Linked DNA regions of Homo sapiens: all the other regions are linked to region 1. Evidence: promoter capture Hi-C in 16 types of primary human blood cells and fetal thymus (Javierre and others, 2016). All regions are on one chromosome and are shown on one strand. Each heading gives the region's core, a stretch centred on a gene start or on the middle of the fragment in contact. The rest is flanking DNA. Distances are from core to core; before and after follow the strand shown. Region 1 holds the start of C1orf174 (chromosome 1 open reading frame 174). Region 2 holds the start of PANK4 (pantothenate kinase 4 (inactive)). Region 3 has its middle 2.5 kb from the start of FAAP20. Region 4 overlaps RER1 (retention in endoplasmic reticulum sorting receptor 1). Region 5 holds the start of PRXL2B (peroxiredoxin like 2B).

The links. The method cuts DNA at HindIII sites, captures the fragments that hold promoters and counts their contacts. A CHiCAGO score of 5 or more calls a contact.
Region 2: a contact is called between the fragment with the promoter of PANK4 here and the fragment with the promoter of C1orf174 in region 1, in 1 of 17 cell types (neutrophils). The highest score is 5.9, in neutrophils.
Region 3: a contact is called between a fragment that was not itself captured here and the fragment with the promoter of C1orf174 in region 1, in 1 of 17 cell types (non-activated CD4 T cells). The highest score is 5.3, in non-activated CD4 T cells.
Region 4: a contact is called between a fragment that was not itself captured here and the fragment with the promoter of C1orf174 in region 1, in 1 of 17 cell types (neutrophils). The highest score is 6.0, in neutrophils.
Region 5: the fragment with the promoter of PRXL2B here is called in contact with the fragment with the promoter of C1orf174 in region 1 in 1 of 17 cell types (neutrophils); the score reaches 8.6 in neutrophils.

What each region holds. Positions count from the first base shown.
Region 1 is chr1:3,898,845-3,901,544 of GRCh38, forward strand. It overlaps C1orf174 (chromosome 1 open reading frame 174), which reads right to left and starts at 1,428. Exons shown (of 4, transcript NM_207356.3): 1 at 1,328-1,428. The coding sequence starts at 1,342. LINC01134 (long intergenic non-protein coding RNA 1134) reads left to right here and starts at 1,560. Exons shown (of 4, transcript NR_024455.1): 1 at 1,560-1,787. RefSeq lists enhancers at 520-1,090, 1,091-1,659, 1,660-2,229, 1,869-2,128 and silencers at 1,179-1,248, 2,329-2,508. The HindIII fragment of the contact is 4,148 bases long and covers 128-2,700 here.
Region 2 is chr1:2,525,177-2,527,876 of GRCh38, forward strand. It overlaps PANK4 (pantothenate kinase 4 (inactive)), which reads right to left and starts at 1,420. Exons shown (of 19, transcript NM_018216.4): 1 at 1,288-1,420. The coding sequence starts at 1,411. RefSeq lists an enhancer at 1,447-2,167. The HindIII fragment of the contact is 7,457 bases long and covers 1-1,817 here.
Region 3 is chr1:2,195,902-2,198,601 of GRCh38, forward strand. It overlaps a transcript of FAAP20 not described here. Among named protein-coding and RNA genes, the nearest start is that of FAAP20, 2.5 kb to the left of the region's middle. RefSeq lists an enhancer at 1-505. The HindIII fragment of the contact is 4,227 bases long and covers 1-2,700 here.
Region 4 is chr1:2,395,966-2,398,665 of GRCh38, forward strand. RER1 (retention in endoplasmic reticulum sorting receptor 1) reads left to right here. Exons shown (of 7, transcript NM_007033.5): 3 at 1,151-1,255. Among named protein-coding and RNA genes, the nearest start is that of RER1, 5.5 kb to the left of the region's middle. The HindIII fragment of the contact is 1,851 bases long and covers 521-2,371 here.
Region 5 is chr1:2,585,481-2,588,180 of GRCh38, forward strand. It overlaps PRXL2B (peroxiredoxin like 2B), which reads left to right and starts at 1,297. Exons shown (of 7, transcript NM_152371.5): 1 at 1,297-1,468; 2 at 1,611-1,815; 3 at 2,261-2,312. The coding sequence starts at 1,406. RefSeq lists an enhancer at 2,105-2,700. The HindIII fragment of the contact is 11,388 bases long and covers 1-2,700 here.

The DNA.
Region 1 (2,700 bases), core at 178-2,677:
AATGATAACACAGTACTGTTGAGTTTGTAACATTATCAGATGTAATACATATAACAAAATACCACAAAAATAACCATATAAGAGTAACATTTCTGTATCACTTGGAATTAACCTAGTACAAATCTGAAGCTTAAGATGTATATGGAGAATATGAAGATTAAGCTGTATACGGTAAAACATAAAGCACTGGAAAAAACCCAAAAAAGTTGTGGAAAAAAAATCATTAAATTAAAATGCTACATTAGGAAATATTCACTTTAATCCACTTAAAGAAGGAACAGGGGAAGAAAAAGACAGACTTGTATAAAGAAAAGAAAAAGTAAAATGGCAAATGTAAACCTAACTACAGTGTATCAATAATATTAAATGTGCATGGGCTAAACAATTCAATCAAAAGGCAGAAACTACCAGACTGCATTTTAAAAAAGATCCAAGTATATGTGCCTACAGGAGACAAGTTTTGGTTCAAAGATAAAAATAGTAAAAGGAGTTGGAATTCACAAGTGGCCACTCCATTTGAACAAACCAGGAGAGCCTCCATGCAGCTCAGAGCCTCCCAAGTGGACCGGGACCCGCGCCGGGTCCACTGTGAAAAGGGTCCTTCGCCTTAACTGTTACACCCACGCAATGAGCACTTGCCCCTTGCCAGACACTGGCACCCCCCTTCAATCCTCACCACCCTCTTGGTGGATCCCTCATCACCCCACTTTTAGCACATTCAGTAGATGGGGCCAAGCTGAGGTCACTTGCTGTGTGACGTCCATTGGAGTGGCAGCAGTTGAGGGGCACAAACTCAGCTCTGCAGCATCTAGCACTACCAGGAGTTGAAACCAGTTCTGGAGAGGGTGCCCCACCTTCCTAGGAAAGTGGCCCGAAACCTCCCTTCAAGGGGGCGTGACCTGGGAGCCCCCTGTTGCCCAGGACGTGAACTGTGAGCTCCACTTCTCCCGAGGGCGTGGACCGGAGCCCCCCTTCTCCCGCGGGCATGGCCTGGGAGCTCCCCTTCTCTCGGGGGTGTGGCCCAGAGGCCCCATTCTGCGGGGGTGGGTAACCTGGGAGCCCCCTTCTCCCGGGGACGTGACCTGTGAGCTCCACTTCTTCCGAGGGCGTGGCCCGGAGCCCCCTTTTCACAGGGGCGTGACCTGGCAGCCCTCCTTCTCCCGGGAGCGTGGCCTGGAGCCCCCCAACTACTGCCGGGGGCGAGGCCCAAGCGGAGGCCGCTCCTAGGCCACAGGCACCCCGTGACCCCGCCCCGGTTCTCCAGACAGCAGGTGACCCAGAGTCCCCGCCCTGCCCGGCGCAGCTGCTGCCGGGACCCAGCCCTCACCTTCCGGCTCCTCATGAGTGTGAGCACCGCAGCCAAGCACCGCGCGCCCCGGCCAACGCGTCCCGGCGGAGCGGCGACCCGGAGTCTGCAGAGCGCGCCGCGGCGGCGTCCGACGTCAGCACAGCCAATCACAGTGCAGCACCCTCGTCATGTGATTCCCCCCCCCCCCCCCCCCGTGTTGGCTCTTTCGTAAGCGGCGGGCGAAGGTCACAGGCCTTGGGCCAGTGGTGGGACACTGGAGCAGGAAGTCGGCCTGTGGCCGGCCATGTTCATGAGGGCGCGTCCCTTGGCACCCCTGTAGCCGCTATGTTTCCCACGCCCGTGGCAGGCCTGAGAGATTATGTTTGCGGGGGGTGCTTTTTTTGTAGCTTCTGTGTTCGCCATATTTGAAAGGGGCAGACGGCCATGTTCGTGAACGGCGCTTCCCTTGGTGCACCTGTGGCCGCCATGTTTGAGCGAGGTGGGCAACTATGTTCTTGAGGGGGGAGCAACCATGTTCTTGAGGGGCTCTTCCCTTGAAGCCTCTTTGGCCACCATGTTTGAGAGGGGCAGACGGCCATGTTTGTAAGGGGCGCTTCTCTTGGTGCGCCTGTGGCCGCTATGTTTGAGAGGGGCAGGCAACCATGTTCGTGAGGGGCGCTTCCCTTGAAGCCTCTTTGGCGCCATGTATGAGAGGGGCGGACGGCCATGTTTGTGAGGGGCTCTTCCTTTGGTGCGCCTGTGGCCGCCATGTTTGAGAGGGGCGGGCGGGACGTCCGTGAGGGGCCCCTCCCCTTGCATCCCCTGGCTAACAGCCTGCAGGAGGGCGGGAAGTGCTTTCTCCAGTGCCGCAGAGCGCTGGTTTCTGAGTGCCGGTTAGCGGCCTTGAGCAGCGCGAGGGACTCCCAGGCCTGCCCGTGCTGCGGTCCCGCTGGGGAGCTTTGCGCGCTTGTCGCAGGCTGTGCTGCCCCGCGACATGCCGCTTTGGGTTGGGGTGGCCCGCCCGGGAAGTGGCCTCAGCTGTCCCCCACGTTGCGGGCGGGAGGGGGCCTTAGTGGAGGCCGTCGGTGGGCCCAGGAGGCCAGGGTCCGGCGTCGGGCTGGGGGCCGGTTTTCGTCCCCCGTTACGTGCAAGGCGGGAAATGACCCCTCCGCCGTCCCGTTACTCTCCGGGGCCAACGTGGACTCGCAGGGGCCACGCCTTTTCCAATGGCCACGCCCCTAGCAGGCCTGGGTGGACCCGCAGCGGCCACGCCTCCTCCAATGGCCGCGCCCTATCAGGTCTGGATGGACACACGGCGGCCACGCCTCCTCCAGCAAACACGCCCCTAGCAGGCCTGGGCTGCTGTGATGCGTCCTCTTTGGCCGCCGCTGAGGGAGGTGTTTGTAAAGCTG
Region 2 (2,700 bases), core at 170-2,669, 1.4 Mb before region 1:
ACCACAGCAGCAAACATGTCAGATGCACCAGGAGCACACAGCTCAGAGGGAATGGCCTGGGTCTCTCTGAGTCCCAGCTTTTCCAGGGAGGTGGGAAGCAGTCAGCGGCAGGCCCATTCATCCCAGTATTTACTGGGCGGCAAAGACAGGTTGGGCATCCTTTTCGGGGGCTGGGGCTACAAGACACACCGCTGCTCTTGTGGGATTCACACACAAGCAGACTCAGCCTACGACCGAGATGAGTGCTAAGAGGGAGAGGTATGTGAAGCCGCAGCGGCTATTCAAGGGGGGTTTCTCCAGGTGAAGCTGCCCCCAGGAAGCCCTCATGCCTGAAACATGGGCAGAGTAGGAGAGCAGGGAGTGGCTGGTTCAAATCCTGGTTCTGCCACTTTCTAGCCCGATGACCCTGGGCAAATTAGTTCACCTTTCTGGGGCTTGGTATCCTCATCTGCGAAAAGGGAGTAATTCGCGTTCCTCCCCTAGAGGTGGCTGGGAGGTGTCCGGGAGTCAGGAGCGTGGGAAAAAGGTCTAGAACAGAGCCTGGCCCGCCGTCATTACTGAGAGCACAGCCATCAGGCAGGAGGGTCTGCAGCGGACCCTGGAGAGGCCAGGGCAGAAGTGCAGGCCGCCTTAAAGGCCACGGAAGGCACGGGTGGCTTTTAAACCAGAGGCACGAGTTCCCAGGTCCCACGTCCACGGCCGCCTGAACTCACGCCCGGCGTCCACTCTCCAGAGAGCGGGGCCTGTGCACGGACTGTCCGGCCCGCGGGCCACAGCTGGCCACGCCGCGGGAACGCGCGGCCTTTTCGGGGCCACTCTGCCAAGGGCTTCCCGCCGAGCTCGTCCTCGTCTCGACCAGAACTAAGGACCCCAAATCTCAGGCCAGCCACCAGCCAAGCGGCGGAGCCGGGGCGCCCAGATGCCGATGTGGCCGAAGACATAAAATTCCGCCGACCCTCCCACCTCGCGGCGGGTAACGCTGGACCCCGGCCCCCAGCCACCCAGGACGGCCGCGCGAACTACCAGGCCCGGCAGGCCCCGCTCTGGTCCCTGCGGCGCCTGCCGGTAGCTGTAGTCCGGCCGTCGCCCCGAGCCCGCGCATCAGCGACCCTGCGGACTACAAGGCCCGTGAGGCTGTGCGCGGGCCCGCGGACTACAAGGCCCGTGAGGCTGTGCGCGAGGCCCGCGCCCCCGCCCTTCGTCCTTCCCGCCGCCCCCGCTCGCCGGCCCACCGCCGGCGCCCCGCCCGCCCCCGCAGCCCGCGCCCGGCGCCCGGCCTGCGGCTACCTATGTCGATGGCGAAGCGCTTGGCGTTCTCCAGGTTGCGGAAGATCTCGTCGGGGGGCAGCGTGATGCTCTTGTCCAGACTGTCCCCGCTGCTCCCGCTGCCGCTCGCTCCACACTCCGCCATTTTGAAAGTGCCCGGCCAGCTCATCAGCCATGGAGATATATGCGCATATATTTGACTGCCAAACGCCCCCTCGCATAGATTATGTTAATGAGGCGCCGGCCCCGCCCCTTCCCTCCCCCACCCCCGGCCTCTGAGGTCTCGGCCGCTACAGGGCGAGCTAGGGCCAGTGCTGGGCAGGGGTCCGAGAGGCCCGGGGCTGCGGGCGGGCGGGCGGTTATCCTCCAGAGATCGCGCATCAGCACAGAACATCTGGACTGATGTTCTTTTACCGCGCTGTCCACAGGCTTAACTCAAGTGCTCTGAGCCCTGCTGAGGGAGGCCGCAGAGGCCGCCCACCTGCTTCTAAGGGGGCACGTGGGTCTGCAGACTGTCAGAGAGCCCTGCCCTTCAGCGAGTGCCTGCTGTAAGCTTGGCCCTGCACGCCAGGGCGAATGTGATGCGCTCTTTGCTAGGGTGACTCAATCCTGGCTTCCCAGGGGCGTGGGACTTTCAATGTTAAAAGTCCCATGCAAACCAGAGGAGTGGGGAACCCTGCCCCACCTGGGAGGAGCCCCAGCCTGGCATGCACCTGCGGGTAGGGAAGATGTGTGCTGTAATGGCGATCCGTGGAAAGTGCTGTGGTCGGGGGAAGCCAGGCAGGCTGCCTGTGGGCAAGACAGGTGCCTGGGAGGCTGCAGGAACAAGCCTTGGAAGCAGCTGGAGCCAGGACAGGGGTATAGGTGGGGCAGGCCAGGGTTCCAGGGTGAGTGGCTGGGAAGCCCTGCTGGCATGAAGAGATGCGTCTTCTCCAGAGGCTCTGGGCGCCTTGGGAAAAAGCCCAGTGTTGGAAGCAGACAGATCAGCCCCTCCCGGGTAACCCGGGGTCATTACTGCATGTCTCTGGCCCTCAGCCTCTGTCTGCACGTGGAGAATGCCACCAGCTGCCTGGCAGGGCTCCTGGGAGCACAGGCCTGTGGGGCGGCACAAACTCCAGGGATAATGCATCTGTGTGCGCAGGGCAAGCCTTCAGGGAGGAGGCATCCTTGCCTGTGTCTTCCAAGGGGGTGGGTGTGTGGCTCTGGAGGGGGAGCCTGCCCCAGGGAGGCCTGGGTGGAAGAGTGGAGCACACCCCAGGCGGCTTAGACCTCTGGCAGCTCAGACCCCTGGCAGCATGGTGTGCCATGGGCCAGGCTGGCAGGAGGTGCCCTCCATGAGGGGCGCCCACCTGTGTGCCCACTGAACATGCGGGAAACATGCAGGTGAATGGGGGCCTTCCCTGTCCTCTGCCCACCATACCCCGGGGCTCGGTA
Region 3 (2,700 bases), core at 121-2,620, 1.7 Mb before region 1:
CCCCCAGGCCCTTCGACTTGAGTGAGCAGATGGAGATGCAGCGCTGAGTGCTGCCCGGGCAGGGGGAGGGGGCCTGGGGGAGCTGCTGCAGGCCGTGTGGTCTCAGGGGGCCCTGTGGGAGGTAGCCTGTGGCTGGGCCTGCTCTCAGGCGAGAGAAGCCCAGCCGTGGGGTCTCTGCAGCCCCACGTCCACCACATGGCAGGTGCCAGCTGACCAAGCGCTCTCAGACAGCCAGTGTCCAGGGCTCCCCGACAGTCCTGGCTGCCCTGGCTTCAGCTCCGAGCTTCTGGGTCTTTCCTGGAAATGTCACCATGGTCTGCAGGAGGGCCTTGGGTACTTCCAGGAAGACTGGTCCCAGCCTCCCAAGACAGGAGAAAAGGCCAGGCCCAGCAGCCCATGCCTGCAATTCTAGGACTTGGGGAGGTCCAGGCAGGCAGATTGCTTGAGCCCAGGAGTTTGAGACCAGCCTGGGCAACATGGCAAGACCTTGTCTCTATAAATAAAAAATTAGCTGGGCATGGTGGCATGTGCCTGTGGTCCCACCTACTTGGGTGGCTAAGGTGGGAGGATCACCTGAGCCCAGGTAGGTGGGGGCTGCAGTGAGGCAAGATCGTGCCACTGCACTCCAGACCCCAACTCAAAAAAAAAAAAAAATAGGCCAGGTGTGGTGGCTCAAGCCTGCAATCCCAGCACTTTGGGAGGCCAAGTCGGGAGGATCACTTGAGGCCAGGAGTTTGAGACCAGCCTGGCCAACATGCAGAAACCCCATCTCTACTAAAAATACAAAAATTAGCCGGGCATGGTGGTGCACACCTTTAATCCCAACTACTTGGGTGGCTGAGGCACGAAAACCACCTGAGCCTAGGAGGCATAGGTTGTGGTGAGCCAAGATCGCACCACTGCACAACAGCTTGGGCATCACAGCAAGACTCTGTCTCGAAAAACAAAAAAAGACAGAGGAGAAAAGCCCTTGGTGACAAGTGTTTGCTCAGCTCTCTGTGCCGTGCTGGGGGTGGTGGGGGGTGTTCTTGCTCCTTCCTCTCCCTTCCCCACTCTGGCTCCCAACCCCAGGGTTCTGCTGTTGGACCCGGGGGTGGCTCCTGCCTCCTCCTCCTCTATGGCCCCCACATGGTCCAGTGCCCTCCTGCCATGGGACCGGCCGGCCTCTGGATGGGCTCCGAGCCCCCTGGGACCCATCTCCTTCCCTGCCTGGGTCCCTTGGGCAGAGCCTGGGAAACTCAGGCCCCTGCCCTGTCCTGGAGGACCATGTGAGGGACACCTGTGTGTGGCTGCTGCCCCAGAACAGGGGCCTTTCTGGGCGGGAGGACCCAGCCCCCACCCCTGGAAAGCCAAACACTAGAGCTTTGCTGGGGTCTTCAGCATCCTTCCAGCCCCTCCCGGCTCCCCCATGCAGGTGCCCTGGCCACTGGGCCCAAGAGGGGCAGAGCCGAGCAGAAGCAGGGCGGGGTCTCAAGTGACCCAGACCCGGGACACCTGCGCTGCCCGGCTGGCGCAGGCTGCTTGGGAAGCTCTCGCTGCGGGTGCCCCAAGGGTAGGAGGCACGGGCCTGCAGGGGACCTCAGGGCTGGCTGAGCCTGGCTCCAGCCCGCATCACTGAAGCTGGGGGGCCCCCATCCCCTTGAGTCTTAGCCACCCCAGTGGGCCTCATTTACCCTTGGCCACCAGGGAAGAGGAGCCAGGGCCCCAGGCCAGTGCCATGGGGCAGAAGGCAGGGCCTCTGGGCCTGGTGCTTTGGGGACGCAGAGGCAGCACAACGTGTCACAGTTGTCCTCCTGGGGGCTCTTCCCCTCCAGTTTATCTGCTGCTCTGGATTAATCTCCCCTCCTCCCATGTCACCACTGGGGAGGGGGCAGTGGGGCAGGCCCCTGTGACCTACAGCCAGAGATAAGTCCACAGAGAAAGGCACTGGGGTGACCTCTGCTCTGGGCACGTGGCGGGTGCCTCCACTTGTCAGGAAGCCTGACCCCCAATCCCCTCCCGCCTGACAGCTTCCCGACAGCTGCCTGCCAGCCGAGGGCCTGGAAGGGGACCGGCCACTCAAGACTCTCAAGACAAGGAAGCATGTTCACCTCCAACAAACATACCTTGTCCTGCCTGTCCTCAAGTTATCAGCATGACACAGCGGTGCTGGTGATGGTGATGGTGGAGGTTTCAAAGTTGAACCTGATGAAAACGCTCCACTTCTTCGGAGCCATCTGCTGCTGTGGTGACGGAGTTTTGCTTTATTGGAAAATAATTTCTGGTTGGGACTGACACGTGCACAGTGGAAATGAGTTTTTTCTAAGCCAAAATTCATGTTTACAAAAGAACGTTTCAGCTGTGGGAGTTTGCATCCCAGGCAGAGCAGAAGGTGATCGAGTGGGTGGGGGCATCAGAGCCACCCATCTCCTACTCCCGCACCTGCAGACCGGTGGGCTAGGAGGCCCCTTACCCTCTGTGGCAAAAAAGGACACATTTATGGATGATGAATCAGGCCCCAGCCCACTGAGCTGGTTTCAGAAGCCAGGCTGGCCGTAGGTCAGGGAGCCAGGCCTCTCCAACTCCTTCCACCGCGGAAGAACAAGTGTCCCAGCCACTGGCATCCTCAGAGTCACCCAAATGTTCATCTCTGCCCAGCGCTGACACCCTGCAAATCAGGCTAAGACAGCGGTGACGGGCCCTGAGGCTGGCAGGCCTAAG
Region 4 (2,700 bases), core at 196-2,695, 1.5 Mb before region 1:
TGGAGAAGTTACTTCGCCTCAGGCTCAAACTTCCTGAAGACAGCGTTCTCTTCACTGTGAAGGGCCAGCTGTGGAGAGATCGGGCTCTGGGGCCACACGTGGTCTATCAAACATATGCGTTTTCTGTTTCTGTTTTCCTTTTACCAAGCTTTAAAAATATAAAACCCAGTCTCAGCTCCCAGGCAGGACAGATGCGGCCGTGGCTGCCGTTCTGCTCTTGCTGTCCCTCTCCCAGCCACCCACGTCCCCGGTGCTGGTAGCCCCACCTGCCCCGTGTCAGCTCGGCGGTTCTGTCCTTGAGGGTGAGAGGCTCTTGTGTGGGCTGCGTGTGCATTGCTTGGTGAGTGAGGGACCTAGAGCTGCCTTTGAACGCTGGAGTCCGAACCTCTGTCAGGAAAAGCTTGGGTCACCGGCAGTTCCAGGTGCTGAGGATCCGGCTCAAATAAAAATTCATCACCTTAATTAAATCACATATGAAAAGCGATTGGCGATTAATGAAGTTGGGTGACAGGCATATGTAAGCTTCTATAATCTTTTTACTTTTGTGAATTTGGAAATTTCTCACAATTTGAAAATTAAATTTCTAAATTAAAATAAAAAACCATACATATGTATATTTGTAAAAATAAATACATAAAACTAAGGGCTCCTTCGGTCATGTCCACAGCCGCCTGGACGCACACACATGTGGGTGTGGCTGCTGGGGCTCAGGCTGTGGCCAGTGGGCCTGGGAGCGGGGCAAGGCTGGCTGCTGGCTGCTGCAGATGGGGGAGCTGACTTGAGATGTGACGATAAGGGCTGTGCTGTAGGGTGGGGACTTTGAGATGCACAGTCCTCTCTTTGGGGTGAGGCTGGGTCTTCCCCATAGTGATCCCTTGGGGCCAGCACAATGTCACAGTCTCCTAGGAGATTGTTTTGTAATAGTCTTGCTTAAGAGATGAACCTGCTTCAGGAATTATTGAAAATAAACTTTGGATTAATTGTAGTCACTTCTTTGTGCTGATACATAGATGATCTCTTGCTATTTTAACTCACTCTTTTAGCTGTTTTAAAAATTGAAAGCCAACCCTAGCAGAAGGTACATTTTGTGGCAGGGTCAGTACAGAAGTTACAGGACCTGCTTCATGCTTTTGGACTCTTGTCTTTCTAGATTTATCAGTCCTGGCTAGACAAGTCCACACCCTACACGGCTGTGCGATGGGTCGTGACACTGGGCCTGAGCTTTGTCTACATGATTCGAGTTTACCTGCTGCAGGTAGGTGTGGGCTGAAGTGACGAGACTTGGCTCTGTCCACGTTACCTGGGCGTGATGTTTGTGGGGATGTTGTTGATCCAGTCTGTCTTGCAGGAAGTGGTCTCTAGTAATCAATTTTCAGCTAAACGCCAAATGTCAGAAAGATCTCAGTGACTGTCTTTAACGAACAGGGTTGTTTATGATTCACCCGGAGTCGCCTCGCCAGGCTTCTCAGTATACCCAGGCCGTCCTGAGCCCAGCCTGGCCCTGCCCTGGGCACGTCCAGGCCTGGACAGTGGAGCCGCTGGTGTCCCTCCGACCCTGCTGCATGATGCTCAGGACAAGGTTGCGCTCTGTGGCTGCCTCATTCCTTGGGTGAAGAGTCCATGCCTTGGGTGTCATGAATGACTCGGCGTCCAAAGGGTTTATGTAGCTTTTCCTGAGCTCTCCCTTGTGTGAGGCCAAAGCACAGTGCAGGTTGAGACGCCGAGTCAAGTAAGAGAGACAGTGACCGAAGGGGGTCTTGAGGGTTTCCTTCGTGTGTTTTCGGGCACCCCTAGGTCAGGTGATGTCGTCTCAGACTTCACCTGGGTGCTCCTTTACTTGCTGGTAAACACGGGGTTTCTAGGAGCAAACCTGTAAGATGGGAATTCTTCGTCGGTCTTTAGAGGAGGTTACATAATCTTATGTGCAGAGCAGGGCATGTTGAAAGCCTTGTCTGGGCTATTTTCTCCTCTGGGGACTGTAGAAGATACTTCCTTGTTTAAAGCACACACCTTAATTTATTTATTTATTTTTGTTTTTAAATTGGAACTGGGTCCATTCTCTGATGGAAAGAATGACCTAGAAATCTTGAATCAGGGACTTCAGGCAGGAGCAGGGGGCGGGAAGAGTGCAGCACCCACAGGTCAGTTTTATTGCGTTCGAAACCAAGCTCGTGCCTCATTTGGCGTCTCTTCAGGTGTGGCCCTGCAGCCGAGGATGGACACACAGACATCAGTTAGCCCTCACATCCGGCGTTCAGCCGAGGATGGACACACAGACATCAGTTAGCCCTCACATCCGGCGTTCAGCCAGGGATGGACACACAGACATCAGTTAGCCCTCACATCTGGCGTTCAGCCGTCTGACTGGAAAAGCTTTTAGGCAGAAAGACTTCTTGTTTGTATAAGAAAGTTAAAGCATTTATATTTTTATTTATTGTTTTGAGATGGGGTCTCACTCTGTCGCCCAGGCTGGAGTGCAGTGGCCTGATCTTGGCTCACTGCAACCTCCACCTCCTGGGTTCAAGTGATTCTCTTACTTCAGCTTCCCGAGCAGCTGGGATCACAGGCATGTGCCACCATGCCTGGCTAATTTTTGTATTTTTAGTAGAGACGAGGTTTCACCATGTTGGCCAGGCTGGTCTTGAACTCCTGACCTCAGGTGATCCACCCGCCTTGGCCTCCCAAAGTGCTGGGATTGCA
Region 5 (2,700 bases), core at 47-2,546, 1.3 Mb before region 1:
AGAGGGGTAGCCCTGGTCTCTGGGGGCTGCACTCCTGGGCTCTGGAGCTGCCACAGCTCCTCCCTCCTAGTGCTTCCCCTTCCTTGTTTTGCTTTTTGCCCTTTCTGACATAGTGACGACTTCCGTTTCGCAGTCTGGACCTTCACCACCCCAGGGCGAGGGCACAGGCGAAGCAGCAGCACCCCCCCGGGGCCTCTCTTTATTTGGAATACAGTGTGGGGGCTCCCCCTTCCTTCTCCAGCCCGCCCAGGCCCCTGGAGCTGTCCTGGGGCCTGGGGAGTGAGGACCCGTGCCAGCAGCACAGACTCTGCCAGGCCGGGCCCGCTCAGGTGGGAGCCCAGGCCGGGTGAAGCTGTGACCCGGCCCTCACCCCAACTCGGTGACAAAAGCTATCACAGGGCTGCAGTGGGGGAGGAACAGGACGCATCTGCCAGGCACCTGACCCGCAGTGCACTTCTGGGAGCTGTGCTTATCTCCCCGGGGTCTATTTCGCCCCAAGGTTTGGCGGGTTAAAAGCTGATATGCAACCGGCACGACATGAACAGTATTTCATGATTAAAGACATCGCGTCCATGTATAATTGAGATGCTGCCGCATTTGCGGGGATTTTCAAGCGAAAACCAGGCCACGTGGAAAGGCTAAGCCCTCGCACCCCCCCGCCCCCCACTGCTGGGACCCCCGCCCCGCGGGAGACCCCGGCCCGCGGTCCCCTATGCCCGCGACCCCTGCGCTCACCCTCTCCCCTCAACCCTGAGTCCAGCCCAGTCTCGCGCGAGGCCGCAGGGAGACCCCCGCCGCTCCCTGGACCACCCCTGGGCCCACCGTACCCAGCCGCTCCCCGGCGCCCCCCGGGACGACCCCGAGCCGGCTGCCCGCCTCCCGCCGCATTCCGCACAGGCGCACCGCGCACCGAGGGCCGCACCGCCCAGCTCCGCCTGCTGCGCCAATGGCCGACGGGGTCCAAGTCGGCGGCCCAACGGAGAGGCGGGGCTAGGGGCGGGACCAGGACGCGGGACAGCAACTGTCCCGCAAGGCCCGGATTGAGGAGGCGGGAGGGACCGAAGCAGGCGGACCCAGGATTTGGCGCCGCGATCTCGAGGCTTGGCCTGGAGTAGGAGGGGAAACAAGGCGGGACTAGGGGCGAATCCGAGGGGGCGGAGCAGGGCTCGGGGTGCGGTCGGGGGCGTGGCCGGGGCGCGCTGCGGCCATCTTGGGGGCGGGCCCGGGGCGGAGACGAGCCCGAAGGGGCGGGGCCTCGGCGGCAGCAAGAAAGGCGGGACCGGGGCATCTCGGGGCGGGGCTTGGGGCTGGATCTATGAGCCGGGAGCGGGGATCCAGGAGCGAGGAGCCGGGAGCGGGGAACAGGGAGTCGGGGAGCCGGGAACCAGGGCTGGCAGCGGCCGCCATGAGCACGGTGGACCTTGCTCGCGTGGGCGCGTGCATCCTGAAGCATGCGGTGACCGGGGAGGTGAGGCCGGGTGGACGCAGGGCGGTGGGCGCGTCCCTGGCTCCTTGCCCGGGCGTCCTGGCAGCGATGGGGTGGTGGGGGCCGCGGGGCCTGGGCGGGGCTGGGGGCAACGGGGCGCGCCCATGACCCAGCCGCCCGGCAGGCCGTGGAGCTGCGGAGCCTGTGGCGGGAGCACGCGTGCGTGGTGGCCGGGCTGCGGCGCTTCGGGTGCGTGGTGTGCCGCTGGATCGCCCAGGACCTCAGCAGCCTTGCTGGGCTCCTGGACCAACACGGCGTGCGCCTGGTGGGCGTAGGGCCCGAGGCCCTGGGTCTGCAGGAGTTCCTGGACGGCGACTACTTCGCGGGAGGTGCGTCCTGTTCCCCGCCGCGGCGGCGCACATACCCTTCCCTAAGCTCAGGGCGTTCGGGGCCCTTTCCTGCCCAACCCCGGCCCTTCTGTCTGCTGGAGCGGCCTTGATATGCCCACGGGTCAGCGTCCCTCATCTCTCCCTGCCTCCCCGCCCCGCAGCTGGTGGCTGGGTGGTGCCCTGCACAGACCTGGGCCCAGCAGCAGAGTCTGGACGAGCTCTGCCCCGCCGGCTCCACCTGTTGCCTCTGGGACTCAGCCCCTCTTCTGAGGGGAGGGGGGACACTCAGCCCCGTTTTACCCCTCCCTGCCCTGCGGGGGTGGGCTGAGCACGGAGGGTGGGCAGAGGAACAGAGGGTCGGAAGGAGGAGGGCGATTCTTTGTGGTGAGTGGGTTGGGGGCTGGTTCTGCGCCTGGGGCACACACATGTGGCTTCCGCTTTCCAGAGCTCTACCTGGATGAGAGCAAGCAGCTTTACAAGGAGCTAGGCTTCAAGCGGTGAGTGGGGGCGGGAACCCTTGGGTAGCGTGGGGTGGGGGGCCCAGGGGTTCCCACCGCTCCCTGCCACCTCCTCTCCCTGCTGCCCTCTGTGGTGCTGTCCACTCGGGCCTTCCTGGGCAAGGCGGCTCTGGTGGCACTGTTGACCAGCCCTTCTGCCAGGCCTTCTCTTGGGTGCTGGGTGACTGTAATGAGCCACCTCGTCCGGGGCTTACTCTCGGTGTCCAGACCACCTCGTGGGGTGGAGCCTCGTGGCCCATCAGGGGCCATCCTAGCTTTCTGGTGTCTGTGCCACAGGCTGCTTCCTTTGCTTGGCAGTTGCCAGCTGAGCCAGATCCCTGGGCACACCCAGCCTGGGGCCCCATCCATGCTCCCTGCACCCTCTGTG